Regions from separate parts of the Homo sapiens genome. Here regions 2, 3 and 4 are each linked to region 1. The links are contacts of gene promoters, found by promoter capture Hi-C in blood cells and fetal thymus (Javierre and others, 2016). All regions are on one chromosome and are shown on one strand. Each heading gives the region's core, a stretch centred on a gene start or on the middle of the fragment in contact. The rest is flanking DNA. Distances are from core to core; before and after follow the strand shown. Region 1 holds the start of TNFSF12 (TNF superfamily member 12). Region 2 holds the start of GPS2 (G protein pathway suppressor 2). Region 3 overlaps TNK1 (tyrosine kinase non receptor 1). Region 4 holds the start of TMEM256 (transmembrane protein 256).

Region 1 (3,032 bases), core at 285-2,784:
GAAGCTGCTATTAATCACACCGAGATAACAGGTGGGGGCCAGGACAACTGCATGCCGACTTGGACACGTGGTCATCCGGCCACCCCATCATCCCATTCCTAAGTCTCTTTGCCTACCGGGGCCCAGGCCTCTGACTGCCAGGCCTAGTCTCCATCAGGATCCCAGTAGTTCTTCTAACTCATGGCCACCCTGCCTTCCTGTTTGGGGTAGGGTCTGAAGGAGCACATCCATATGACAGAAGGAGCTTCAGAGGAGGGCGAGAATCCCTAGGTTTGAGTCTTGGCTGGTTAGCTGCATGACTCTGAACTCCTTTCACCCTCCGTGCCTCAGTTTCTCCCTGTGGATAATGGTTTTTGCTCTGCCCGCTTCCTGAGGTTGGGATAGAGGGATGCTCACCACTTCTGCGAGGCCGAACTAGTCGGTTCAGGAAAGGCGCAGGATCCTGGCTTTCTTCTGTCTGGGGATTCAGTTCCTAGGGGAATTAGGGCAGGGTTCAACCACAGACTCCCAGAGATATAAAGTGAGACATACGGGGCCTGTCAGGAGAGCCACCAGCCAGCAATAGACACAGAAGTCAGGGACAGATTAAGCCCCTCAGCCAACTACAGCTGGGGCCCCGGGCAAAGGTGAAGCTGGGAGTCAGGCCCCAGTCCTCACCCTTTCCTCTAGACCAGCTACACTTTCCCACCCACACACACAACCAACGCAGACCCTGCATTCAATTGGCACATTGCACACATGCCCGCACCCAGTCACCACGCACAGAGGATACACACCCTGTACACAACCGCACCCCTCTTCCACGCAGACTCACATATCTTATACAACCACGTCACCCCCAGCCAATAAACACCTCAGACTCAGGTGGCACAACCCCAGCACAAACCCCTCACACAGAGTTGTCACCACGCACACACACCCCTGCAGACACGCACCCATGCACGCACTGTGTTCACACACACCCTGCACACACCTCGAGTACGGCTGGCACAGCTGCACACACCTGCAGCCTCGGCTGTGCACACTTCCCATGCCCCAGCAGCCTGCAGACCGCGCCCACGCCCACTCACCGACGGGTCCTGGTCCTCCTCTGCCACCAGCTCCTCCTGGGCAGGCTCCTGCTGGGAAGGAGGGAGCGTCACCCTGTGCCGCTCCACCTGACATCTCACCCTCCACCCATCCTCCCTTCCCCTTGCCTTCAGCCCACGCGGCCCCCAGCGGCCCCTCTGCAGTCTCAGCTCCTGATGTGCCCAAGAAGGGGTGCGCAGCGGGGCCTCACCTGGGCGGACAGCGATGCCCGGCTCCCCAAACTGACCACGGCCAGCAGGAGGCCGAGGCAGGCCAGCGCCAGGCCCAGGCCCAGCGCGAGCGGGACCAGCAGGGCGGTGCCCGGCTCCCCCCGGCGCCCCCTCCGCCTCTGGCTCCGACGGGCGGCCATGGGGGCGGGGGGCTGTGCCTGCCTCACCGCCCCCCCATCCCGGGACCCGAGGGATCGGGGGAGGGGGAGCCGGCGGGCGGATCGGGCCGGGGAGAGGGAGGGGCAAGGGAAACGGGGCGGGAGGGGGCGCTGGGGACAGGAAGCCGGACGCTGTGTGTGATCAAACTCCGAGCCTCTCGCCGGGCGCTGTGCGCGCAGCGAACGGAGTGGGCGCCCACCCGACCTCTGAGCGCCCAGCCCGGGCGTGCACCACCAGGGCGAGGTCCGTTGCGTGCGGCCGCGGGAGCGACGGGGCTATGCGTGTGCGGGCACCTCCTGCGGGGAGGTGGGGAACTCAGGAAGGCCTGTTGGTTCAGATTCTTCTGTGTCCCTGTGTCTTCAGAGATAAGGACCCTCCTTTCCCCCAGGTGCAGGGAGGGCGCCTCTCGCAGGAGGCTGTTATTTGCTTCTTCAGGAAAAGGGCAGGGAGTTCCAGGTTGTATGACCTGGTTCAGGGAAGAAGGGCAGGAGAAGGTAAGAAAGATCCTTCGGCTTCTGCGGTTTTCTCAAATTCCTTCAGCTTAAAACACTCACTGTGCCGGTAGCACGTTCTGAAGCCCATCATTACCAATGATTGCCAAGCATCTGAGGAGGACCAGCAGCATGCAAAAGAAACACCAAAATTGGTCCGGCAGGTGGCTTACGCCTGTAATCCCAGAAGGCCAAGGCTGGGGGCCAGGAGTTCAAGATCAGCCTGGGCAAGAGCAAGACCCCATCTCTACAGAAAAGTTTTAAAAAATTAGCCCACGCCTGTAGTCCCAGCTACTCAGGAGGCCGAGGTAGGAGGATTGTTTGAGCCCAGGAGTTTGAGGCTGCAGTGAGCTGTGATTGCACCACTACACTCCAGCCTGGGCAACAGACCTTGTCTCAAAAAGAAAGAAAGAAAGGAAGAAAGAAAGAAAGGAGGGAGGGAGGGAGGGAGGGAAGGAGGGAAGGAAGGAAGGAAGGAAGGAAGGAAGGAAGGAAGGAAGGAAGGACCAAAATTGGCTGGGCGCGATGGTTCACGCCTGTAATCGCAGCACTTTGGGAGGCTGAGGCGGGTGGATCACGAGGTCAGGAGATCGAGACCTGCCTGGCCAAGATGGTGAAACCCTGTCTCTAATAAAAATACAAAAAAATTAGCCGGACGTGGTGGCAGGCGCCTGTAGTTCCCAGCTACTCGGGAAGCTGAGGCAGAGAATTGCTTGAACCCAGGAGACAGAGGTTGCAGAGAGCTGAGATCACGCCACCACACTCCAGCCTGGGCAACACAGCAAGACCCTATCTCAAAAAAAAAAAAAAAGAAAGAAAGACCAAAATTAACAAACAAAATTTGACATTGGAGGAAACAGAGATAATTCAGGATACAAAGAGTACTACCTAATATACTTAAAGAGAGTCAAGAAAAAGCATCCATAGAGCTGGGCATGGTGGTGCATGCCTGTAGTCCCAGCTACTCAGGAGGTTGAGATGGGAGGATCACCTGAGCCTGGGAGGTTGAGGCTGCAGTGAGCTGTGATCACACCACTGCATTCCAACACGAGCAACAGAGTAAGACCCTGTCAAAAAAAAAAAA
Region 2 (3,032 bases), core at 371-2,870, 230 kb after region 1:
GGACCCCAAATCCCAGCGGACGCACCAGGCTCAGGTGGCGTTCCAGGTGTGTGTGCGCCCTGGCTCCTACACCCCGGGACCCCCTTCCGCTGCCCTTGGAGAACCTCCTGACCCTCACTTCAGTCCAGCCGAACTTGAGTGGGTCACTAAGGAGAAGGGGGCCACACTCCTCTGTGCCCTGCTGGTACGGGTGGAATGAGGGGTGAGACACCACTACTACAAGCACAGTCGGGCCGCGGGCCCATGGACTCTGAGTGGCGACTGCCTCCACCTCATTCCCGTGACTCGTGGCATGCGCAGGTGCTGGAGCTTGGCAGCCGCGCAGGAGCATGTAGGCAGGCTCTCAGATGTAGGTGGCAAGTGGCACAGCTCCATGTCCGGAGGCCCAGCACTCCGTCTGATGGGAGGAGTCGTGGGAGCCCAGCTCCAGGCCCTGGTACCCCTCTTCATGCACTGATTTGGGGAACATGACTCCCTTTTACTCCCCTACCCCACATCACTTAATTTATTTCCGTTTTTGTTTCTGGTTACTGTGAATCCCAGAGGAGTCTCTCCCTGTGCCCACATGAAGCTGCTTTTTCCGGGGCCACCGGGCGGGAGTGGGGAAGGGTGGGCGCACGGAAGATGGGGGCCTCTGTACAGTTGTTACTGACTCTGATTTCTAAGGAGCCAATAAACACCGTCTCAGAGCCTCCGCCTCGGCCTCTCTCTCGCGCGCCCCTCTCCGGAGCCCGCGTCCCCTGGGGTGCCACCAGGTGGGCCCGCGAAATTAAAGAGAGCTGAGGATGCCAAGGCCAGTCTGCAGCCGTCGTCGCTCACGTTCCCGGCGACGGGGTTTGTACGCCGCGGGCACCCGTCGCAGCGCGCTTCCGCCTTCTTTCACCTGTGAGGTCGGCCGCCGCCGTGACTCCGGAAGGACTCGGCCGGGCCGCCGGATGTGACGCAGGGGCCAGGGCGCGTCGGAGCCGCTGAGAAAGCGCAGAGAAGGCGGGTAGGAAGGGCAGTCGTCCGCGCTGGCTGGGCAGGGAGCGGCAGCAGCGAGCCGGGGACCCCGGCGCCGCCCGCGCGCGGTGGGACTGGGGCTGCGGTCCCGGCCGGGTGGCGGGCTCCTGGGACACGTGACCGGGGCGGCGAGCGGGCCGGGCGGACGGGCTTCCGCCTGGGCCGGGCGCGGCCCCCTCTGAGCGCCCGCCTCCCCGCAGGCCCCGTCTGAGGTCTGGCAGTCAGAGACAGCCGGGCGCCCACGGCCCGAGCGCCCACGGCAGCACCATGCCCGCACTCCTGGAGCGCCCCAAGCTTTCCAACGCCATGGCCAGGGCGCTGCACCGGCACATTATGATGGAGCGGGAGCGCAAGCGGCAGGGTGAGCCGGGGCCATAGCAGGGGGACGCACGGCCCAGAATGGCTCCTGTACCTCAAGGCTGGCCTCAACCCACCGGCCAACCAGCGCGCCCGCTGCCGAGCGCAGAGGAGGGAAGGAATAGCCCCGTTGTGGTGGGATTTAAGCGTCCTGTTCCACGCTCCAGAACCCTTGAGATGGGAAGGACCTTGGAGAGCACCTGATAAAGCCTTTCCGTTCCCTATTGCCGCGATGGGGAGCTTGTCCCCTCGAGGCAAAGAGCATACAGGCGTGTTGGGATGACTGGGTTTTGCTGGTCTTCAATCTGTAACGTTGGAATTGTTTTCACTACCCTGCCTCTTCTTCATTCTGCCTGATTCTCCAGAGGAAGAAGAGGTGGATAAGATGATGGAACAGAAGATGAAGGAAGAACAGGAGAGAAGGAAGAAAAAGGAGATGGAAGAGAGAATGTCATTAGAGGAGACCAAGGAACAAGTAAGCAGTCCCTTGAACTTTCCCAGCTTTGATTTCTTCGTTTGACTCTCCCTGCCTTCATCTTCTTTTCCCACCCCATCCCAGATTCTGAAGTTGGAGGAGAAGCTTTTGGCTCTACAGGAAGAGAAGCACCAGCTTTTCCTGCAGCTCAAGAAAGTTTTACATGAGGAAGAAAAACGGAGGCGAAAGGAACAGAGGTGGGATCAGAGTGCTAAAAACTGAAATGGGGGCCAAGTGGAACTGGGATCAGGTAGTAAAAGAACCAGTGTTTAATGGCAAAAGAGAAGGCATCTGTCCTTGACTTTGACCTGTCTTCCTTTCACTCCAGTGACCTGACCACCCTAACATCAGCTGCATACCAGCAGAGCCTGACTGTTCACACAGGAACTCATCTCCTCAGCATGCAGGGTGAGGACTAAAGAAACCACCAGATGGAACCGGCCTTCTTGGAGGTCACAGCCTCCCATTTCAGCATCATGAAGCCCTTCTCCCTTTCTAGGGAGCCCTGGAGGACACAATCGCCCAGGCACCCTCATGGCAGCTGACAGAGCCAAACAAATGTTTGGACCCCAAGTGCTTACGGTGAGAGTAGGATTGGATGCCTAGCCCCTAGTACTTCCATCCATGCATCCTTGCCACCAGTATTCAAGTCACAAACATATCAAGCACTTAAGTTTAGGGGGAAACGGGGCATACAGATACACACAAGTCACTGGGTTTCAGCTTTCAAGGAGTTTGTAGGCGAGTTCTCATTCTCCTTCCTTAGACCCGGCACTACGTGGGCTCAGCAGCTGCTTTTGCAGGGACACCAGAGCATGGACAATTCCAAGGCAGTCCTGGTGGTGCCTATGGGACTGCTCAGCCCCCACCTCACTATGGGCCCACACAGCCAGCTTATAGTCCTAGTCAGCAGCTCAGAGGTGAGTAATAGGAGGGATGGGGCTTGGCCTTCCTCAAGGTCAAAGGAGGAATGCCATTCAGTAAAAGATTTTAATGGCTCTGTCTTTTCCTTTCTCAGCTCCTTCGGCATTCCCTGCAGTGCAGTACCTATCTCAGCCACAGCCACAGCCCTATGCTGTGCATGGCCACTTTCAGCCCACTCAGACAGGTGATAACATCCCATGCAGGAGCTCTAGCTCTCAGGTCCTCCCCTCCCTGTTTCATTCTCATCTCACATGCCCCTCTTCCCCACCTAGGT
Region 3 (3,032 bases), core at 260-2,759, 160 kb after region 1:
TACGGCAGGTGGGATCTCCCCAGGTGGAACGTCTACCCCTGTCGGGACCTTGTTCTGGTTCCGCTTGGTCCCATGTGGCCAGGCCCTCAGGGGCCTAGGCTTTTCATGCTGGTGTCTGTGCCCGCAGAAGCTGAGCTCAGGGCCTGGCCAGGACATAGCGGCTGGCAGCTGAGAGGTCCCACTGGTAATGCTCCAGGATGCGCCAGCAGTCAGCTCTGGACCGGCTACTCAGGTGGAAGAGCTGATCTACCTGTGGAAGCAGGAGGGTGGGTTGCAGCTGACTGCCAGGCGGCAGGGGCAGGAGAGGAGGGACCCCAAGAGAAGGGGCTGGCTTTACCTTGAGGTTCCGGATGGCAGAAACCACATCTCCCCCAGTGGCTCCTAGTGCTGTCTGGCACTCCTGGTGGGTGACCCCATGCACACTCAGCTCCACCTGTGACAGACAAAGCCTCACTCAGGCCCCTGCCCCTGCCTGTAGCCCCTTCTGGACACCAGGCCATTTCAGTGAGACCTCACCTCCATAATCTTCCTCTGCAACTCAGGATCGGACAAGAGGCCTCCAGAGAGGGCAGCGGCTTTACGGGCTCCAGGCATTCCCATGGGGTGATTGTGTGGGGGTTTTCTTTTGGGCCAGGGAAGCCTCTCCCTAGAGGGCTGGCTGGGCTGAGGAGAGCTAGAGGATAAAGGTGGGCGTGGAGGCAGGCCTGGAGGTCCCTGGGGCACAGCTCTGGCTTGTCGAATTTCAGGGGGGCTTGAACCACCCCCTGTGGGACGAGGACCGAGGGACAGAACTGACTCCAGACTCCTGGAAATGCCTGCACAGTTGAGAAGGAAACAACTTGAACTCGGCTGGCTGCAGCCTCCGCCTCCCGGGCTCAAGCGATCCTCCCACCTCAGCCTCCCGAGTAGCTGGGACTATAGGTGCCTGCCATTACGACTGGCTAATTTTTGTATTTTTGTAGAGAAGGGGTTTCGGCACATTGCCCAGGCTGGTCTCAAACTCCTGGACTCAAGCCATCCACCCACGCTGGGCTCCCAAAGTGCTGGGATTACAGGCTTGAGCCACCATGCCTGGCCCCACTCTCTGTCTTCATCTGTGCTGAGCTGGATGGTTTTGCAAGCATTTGCAGATGAGCTAGCCAGCCCTGTCCCTGGGTGGTTCATGTGTCAGGTGGGACAATAAGACAGATGGGCAAGTGGACACCAAGGCCTAGGCGGAGGGCCCAGAGAACTCAGAGCTCAGGGCCCAGAGTGTGGAGGTGCTCTTCAGAAGGGAAGGCAGGAGGGCTTCCTATCTTTTAAGATTCCACAGTATAGGGCCGGACGCAGTGTCTCACGCCTGTAATCCCAGCACTTTGAGAGGCCGAGGCAGGCAGATCACCCGAGGTGGGGAGTTCAAGGCCAGCCTGGGCAACAGGGTGAAACCTCATCTCTACTAAAAATACAAAATTAGCCGGGTGTGGTGGCACATGCCTGTAGTCCCAGCTACTCGGGAGGCTGAGGCAGGAGAATCGCTTGAACCCGGGAGGTGGAGGTTGCGGTGAGCCAAGATCACGCTACTGCACTCCAGCCTGGGCAAAAAGAGTGAAACTCTGTCTCAAAAAAAAAAAAAAAAAATAGATTGCACAGTATAGCTAGGATGCCAGCAGACAGAATTCAGAGGAAGGAAATAATAGATGCAAAGGCATGGATTTAGGGCAGGGGGTCGGAATTGAAGGACTGGTCTTGATCTCCTCAGAGACTCTGGAGTCCACCACACCCACCTTTCATCCTCTCCAGGGGCATGTTCCTCCTCTGGCCCCGTGCTGGGGGCGCATCCCAAAGATTTGCCTTCTTTCTGTCTCTGTCGGAGAGGGATCCAGTTCATCCTCCACACCAACTCTCCCCACCCCACAGATCAATATACCCTCCCAAAAAAACTCACAGGGGAACCCAGGAGACCCAGGGCCCAGGGTGGAGGCTGCAGCTTCACTCTGGTCCTGTCCCCAGGCTTCTCTTCCAGAGAAGCTCCTGGACCTCATCAGTTCTCCCAGCCAACCCCTGCCCTCACCCTTTCAGGTCCTCACCCATCTATGCTTCCTGGGTGTTGATCTCCCCGGGCAGGGGTGCCTCTGTGGACTGGACGGGTGGCTGGCAAGCCCCCCGCATCTGCCAGCGTCACTGCCGAGGCTGGGAAGCTGCCCACTTTGAAGGTGCGACCATTCTGGCCCTTCCAGATTGTGGAGTCGGGGCTGTGGAAAGAGGAGCTGGTAAATAGGATGGGAATAAGGGCAAGAGTTAGGGCTGGGCCCTGGCCCACAGTCAGCTCACTAGGCTATGTGCCTTGGAGCCGCATCTGCCTGGAGGAAGGGAAGCCTTTTCCCTAATGCAATAAGGCTCTATGGGCCAGCAGTGGCTCCAGCAGGGAGGCCAGGACCATGCTGGAGCTTTCAGGACCCAGTGGGGAGAGGAGATGAGACAGAAGATCAGGGTTCAAGGAGCTGGAGAGAAGCAGAGAAGGGATCAGGAATTAGGCTGGGAGGGTATCCTCCTCCTGAGGGTGCTTGGGAGGTATGGGACTGTCACCTGCCCTCGATGACTGTGATGGGGTCACCAGTCTCCATCCTCAGGGCGCCTGGTTCTGTGACATCCCTCACACAACATGCTTCCGAAGGCCCGGCCTGTGGAGACAAGAGGAAAGGGTGGCTGGGCTTGTGGCCTGAGTCAGATAGGTAATATGGGAGCAGGAATAAAGAGGAGCTCCGCTCTGTATGTAGTCTGTGCTGGGCCCAGGGTGGGACTCTCCCTGTCCCCCCATTGTAATTCAGTGAGGGAGGCAGACCTGGATCCCATGACAAACAGGTCAGGGCTCAAGGAGCAAGAGAGGAGGGCCCTGGCTCTACCTGGGGGGACTAACAGGAGCGTCATCCTGTACACTGCTTTCACTCCACATCCAGGCCTGTCAGAGCAGCCTCCCAAGCCCCTCTGGGAAATTTCCACTCCTCTGCAGCCCCACCGCCTCTACCCTCATCCAGACCTCTTCATCTCCCTTC
Region 4 (3,032 bases), core at 224-2,723, 140 kb after region 1:
CGAGTGGGGGGCGAAAGGCCTTCGGGAGGGGGCGGCGGCCTCTGAGCCCCCGCGGCCCCGCAGGCCCAGCCCCCGCCCGCAGCGCCTCACCCGGCGGGGGAGGGGGATCGCCCCAGCCCCGGGGGGCGGGGCCGGGATCCAGTCGATCCCCGGGAAAAGGAGAGCTAGGGGATGGGATCAGGGGGAGCCCGAGAACAGGGAACCCCGCAGTAGGGACGATAGAGAAAGGAGGGGGCAACGGGACAGGACTAGATTGAGGATCCGCTGGTTCCGTGGGCCGGCTTCGAGGGACCAGAAGGCGGTCCAGGCGGAGGATCCTAAGGATCGGGTGCTGGAGGAGGAGTCCACGTTAATCCCCAGGGGCCCGGGGCCCGGGAGCGCAGGATCCGCGGTGCAGGGGCAGGGATCCAGCCGGAATCCTCGGGGAGGGGGAGGGATCTAGTCGATCCCGAGGGCGGGCGTGAGGGGGAGGTCCGGGGAGTCAGAGGAGGGCGGGAGCCGAGTCCAGAGCCCCGGGGCGGGGGTCAGCGCGGATCCTAGGAGGGAAGGCGGGGGTGAGGGGAGGCTTCGAGGGACGCTCAGCAGCCGGGAGGCCCGGACTCCTGGCTCCGCGCGCCAGGGCCGGCCCGCCCCGCGTCCATCCCAGCCCGAGAGTGATGATCCGCCGGCGGAGCAGCCGCAGCAGCCCCGCGCGTCACCGCGCGGCCGCCTCCCCCGCCCCCTGCCGAGAGAGCGGCGCACACCCCCCGCTCGCACCCCCCGCTCGCACCCGCCTGCCCGCCCGCCCTCCGGAGAATGGGGGGATTGGAGATGGTGGGAAGAGGCGGGAGCGGACAGACGGACAGATGGACGTAGCGGGCCAGGGCAGGGTGGAGACATTCCCCCGGATCTCCCACCCTCGGGGCTCTCGCGGTCTCGGAGGGCTGGCGGGGGGGAGAATATCTTAACTACAGGGGGCGGGGCATCATACAAAGAAGGCGGAGCCTTCAGACATGGGGGAGGGGCCATTTGTGCAGTGGGCGGGGTTTACTGGCAATAGGTGGGGCTTTGCTATCTTTCGGGCCGCCTCTTTTTGGTAGTGGGTTTGATTTGAAGCTGAACAGGAGGAGCCTGTGGAAAAAGGGGCGGAACTTTGAGAGAAGACCGGGATCTTTGGAAATTGGCCGGAGCATGGGGGTGGGGGGTTCGAAGAGGCGATCAACTTGGAAAGTGGGCCAATCCTTGACGCAAATCCCCCTAGTCCCGCCCTCAACCCCGCCCCCCCACTGCTTAGCTCCTCTGTTCCTAATTGGTGCTGGTTTCTCCGCCCGCCAGACGTCTTCGCCACTCTGCAGCGGTTTTACAAAGGCGGGTGAAGAGCGCAATGCTGAAATGAACACGGCCCGGATTGGGCGCCTGTGAACCTTATTTGCATGGGCGGTCGGGATTGGCTGGCCTCTTGGGTGGCCTGGGCGGCGTTGGTCCGGTGCGTCCTGTTCTACAGCTATGGCCGGGCCAGCTGCAGCTTTCCGCCGCTTGGGCGCCTTGTCCGGAGCTGCGGCCTTAGGCTTCGCTTCCTACGGGGCGCACGGTCAGGGGGCTGGGGACGAAGATGGGACTGTACTTGGGGCGTCCTCTGGGGTCTGCTGCAAGGGCGTAACCTATGGGAGGTGCCCGGCCTCTCGTTTATCAGACAGTCCGCGGAGCCCTAAACCTTTTAAAGTCCCCCAGCTGGGTCCAATTGGTTCCCAGTACTGCCCGAGCGTGTTCCCACCAATCGGAAGCTTCCTGGGGCGGGGGGGGGGGTGCCCTTTCTCGCCAATGTCCACCTGGGTCCCCCCGGATTGGGGGCGGTCAGGGCTGGCACTAGGACCGCTAACCTTTGCTTCTTTTCTCCACAGGCGCCCAATTCCCAGATGCCTACGGGAAGGAGGTGAAGTAACTGCGCTGGGGCTCCCTGACTCGTGGGTCTACGAAGGCACAAAGTCTGGGGTCCCTGGGGGAAGTGGGCGGGGAGAGGGTGGGGCGAGCCGCGGATCTCTGGAGCAGCAAAGGCCAAAGGCTCTGTAAGCCAAAGGCCTGGGATCAAGCTGGGACTTCAAGGGTGGGGTGGGGGAAGGAACTTTGGTCCCTTGTGTCATCAGGGGATCTCAGTACCTGTATTGCCTACGACATCCCTTCGTTTCTGTTTTTCTTACAGCTGTTTGACAAGGCCAACAAACACCACTTCTTACACAGCCTGGCCCTGTTAGGGGTGCCCCATTGCAGAAAGCCACTCTGGGTAATCTTTCCCTGCGCCTAACCCTGACCAAGCCCCACACACTCCCTCTCAGCCTGCCCTGTTCTTAACAATCCTGTTTTCTGTGCTGTGTCTCCTTCAGGCTGGGTTATTGCTAGCTTCCGGAACGACCTTATTCTGCACCAGCTTTTACTACCAGGCTCTGAGTGGAGACCCCAGCATCCAGACTTTGGCCCCTGCGGGAGGGACCCTGCTACTCTTGGGCTGGCTTGCCTTGGCTCTTTGAGCTCCCTTTTGCTTAATTACTGGGTTTTCTGGGCAGTTTTTTTTTTAAAGAGTTGGAGTAAGAAGAGGATTAAAAAGGAAAGGCAAATAAACTTTGGAGTCTTTGTTCATCTAACCTCTTGGAGGACGAAGGGTGGGGATTCAACCTCTGAACTCCCTCCATTTCCTAAGACTTAATCAGTGAGCCTTAGGTCTGGGGATTCTGGTCACTTTAAGTTAACTTATTATAATGTTCTTACCCTGGTGGGCATCAAAGTCATAAAGAATGCTTGAAATAACACAGATTCCTACTGAAGCACTCTTTCGGGCCTGAGAATCTGTATTTTAATAAGCTCATCTTGTGGTTCTGATGCATACTAGGTTTTTAATTTTATTATTATTATTATTATTATTTTGAGATGGAGTCTTGCTCTGTCGCCCAGGCTGGAATACAGTGGCGCGACCTCGGCTCACTGCAACCTCTGCCTCCCAGGTTCAAGCGATTCTCCTGCCTCGGCCTCCTGAATAGCTGGGATTACAGGCGCCTGCC

What was found. The method cuts DNA at HindIII sites, captures the fragments that hold promoters and counts their contacts. A CHiCAGO score of 5 or more calls a contact.
Region 2: a contact is called between a fragment that was not itself captured here and the fragment with the promoter of TNFSF12 in region 1, in 11 of 17 cell types (naive B cells, activated CD4 T cells, non-activated CD4 T cells and 8 more). The highest score is 9.7, in naive B cells.
Region 3: a fragment that was not itself captured here is called in contact with the fragment with the promoter of TNFSF12 in region 1 in 17 of 17 cell types (erythroblasts, endothelial precursors, naive B cells and 14 more); the score reaches 15.9 in erythroblasts.
Region 4: a contact is called between the fragment with the promoter of TMEM256 here and the fragment with the promoter of TNFSF12 in region 1, in 2 of 17 cell types (endothelial precursors and total CD8 T cells). The highest score is 7.0, in endothelial precursors.

The regions. Positions count from the first base shown.
Region 1 is chr17:7,547,560-7,550,591 of GRCh38, reverse strand. It overlaps TNFSF12 (TNF superfamily member 12), which reads right to left and starts at 1,534. Exons shown (of 7, transcript NM_003809.3): 1 at 1,280-1,534; 2 at 1,071-1,118; 3 at 397-472. The coding sequence starts at 1,438. TNFSF12-TNFSF13 (TNFSF12-TNFSF13 readthrough) reads right to left here and starts at 1,534. Exons shown (of 11, transcript NM_172089.4): 1 at 1,280-1,534; 2 at 1,071-1,118; 3 at 397-472. The coding sequence starts at 1,438. RefSeq lists silencers at 1,340-1,419, 1,450-1,639. The HindIII fragment of the contact is 9,939 bases long and covers 1-3,032 here.
Region 2 is chr17:7,313,290-7,316,321 of GRCh38, reverse strand. It overlaps GPS2 (G protein pathway suppressor 2), which reads left to right and starts at 962. Exons shown (of 11, transcript NM_004489.5): 1 at 962-991; 2 at 1,203-1,363; 3 at 1,725-1,834; 4 at 1,919-2,031; 5 at 2,163-2,242; 6 at 2,334-2,416; 7 at 2,601-2,754; 8 at 2,853-2,942; 9 at 3,031-3,032. The coding sequence starts at 1,270. NEURL4 (neuralized E3 ubiquitin protein ligase 4) reads left to right here. Exons shown (of 29, transcript NM_032442.3): 29 at 1-694. The coding sequence ends at 199. RefSeq lists a silencer at 1,020-1,349 and an enhancer at 2,297-2,366. The HindIII fragment of the contact is 643 bases long and covers 1,299-1,941 here.
Region 3 is chr17:7,386,189-7,389,220 of GRCh38, reverse strand. TNK1 (tyrosine kinase non receptor 1) reads right to left here. Exons shown (of 13, transcript NM_003985.6): 8 at 2,566-2,660; 9 at 2,067-2,231; 10 at 1,764-1,843; 11 at 517-815; 12 at 338-433; 13 at 1-250. The coding sequence ends at 137. Among named protein-coding and RNA genes, the nearest start is that of TNK1, 6.6 kb to the right of the region's middle. The HindIII fragment of the contact is 3,374 bases long and covers 1-3,032 here.
Region 4 is chr17:7,402,538-7,405,569 of GRCh38, reverse strand. It overlaps TMEM256 (transmembrane protein 256), which reads left to right and starts at 1,473. Exons shown (of 4, transcript NM_152766.5): 1 at 1,473-1,570; 2 at 1,881-1,912; 3 at 2,180-2,260; 4 at 2,361-2,595. The coding sequence starts at 1,486. The coding sequence ends at 2,504. It overlaps TMEM256-PLSCR3 (TMEM256-PLSCR3 readthrough (NMD candidate)), which reads left to right and starts at 1,439. Exons shown (of 10, transcript NR_037719.1): 1 at 1,439-1,570; 2 at 1,881-1,912. It also overlaps a transcript of NLGN2 not described here. RefSeq lists a silencer at 665-994 and an enhancer at 1,485-1,664. The HindIII fragment of the contact is 6,317 bases long and covers 1-1,765 here.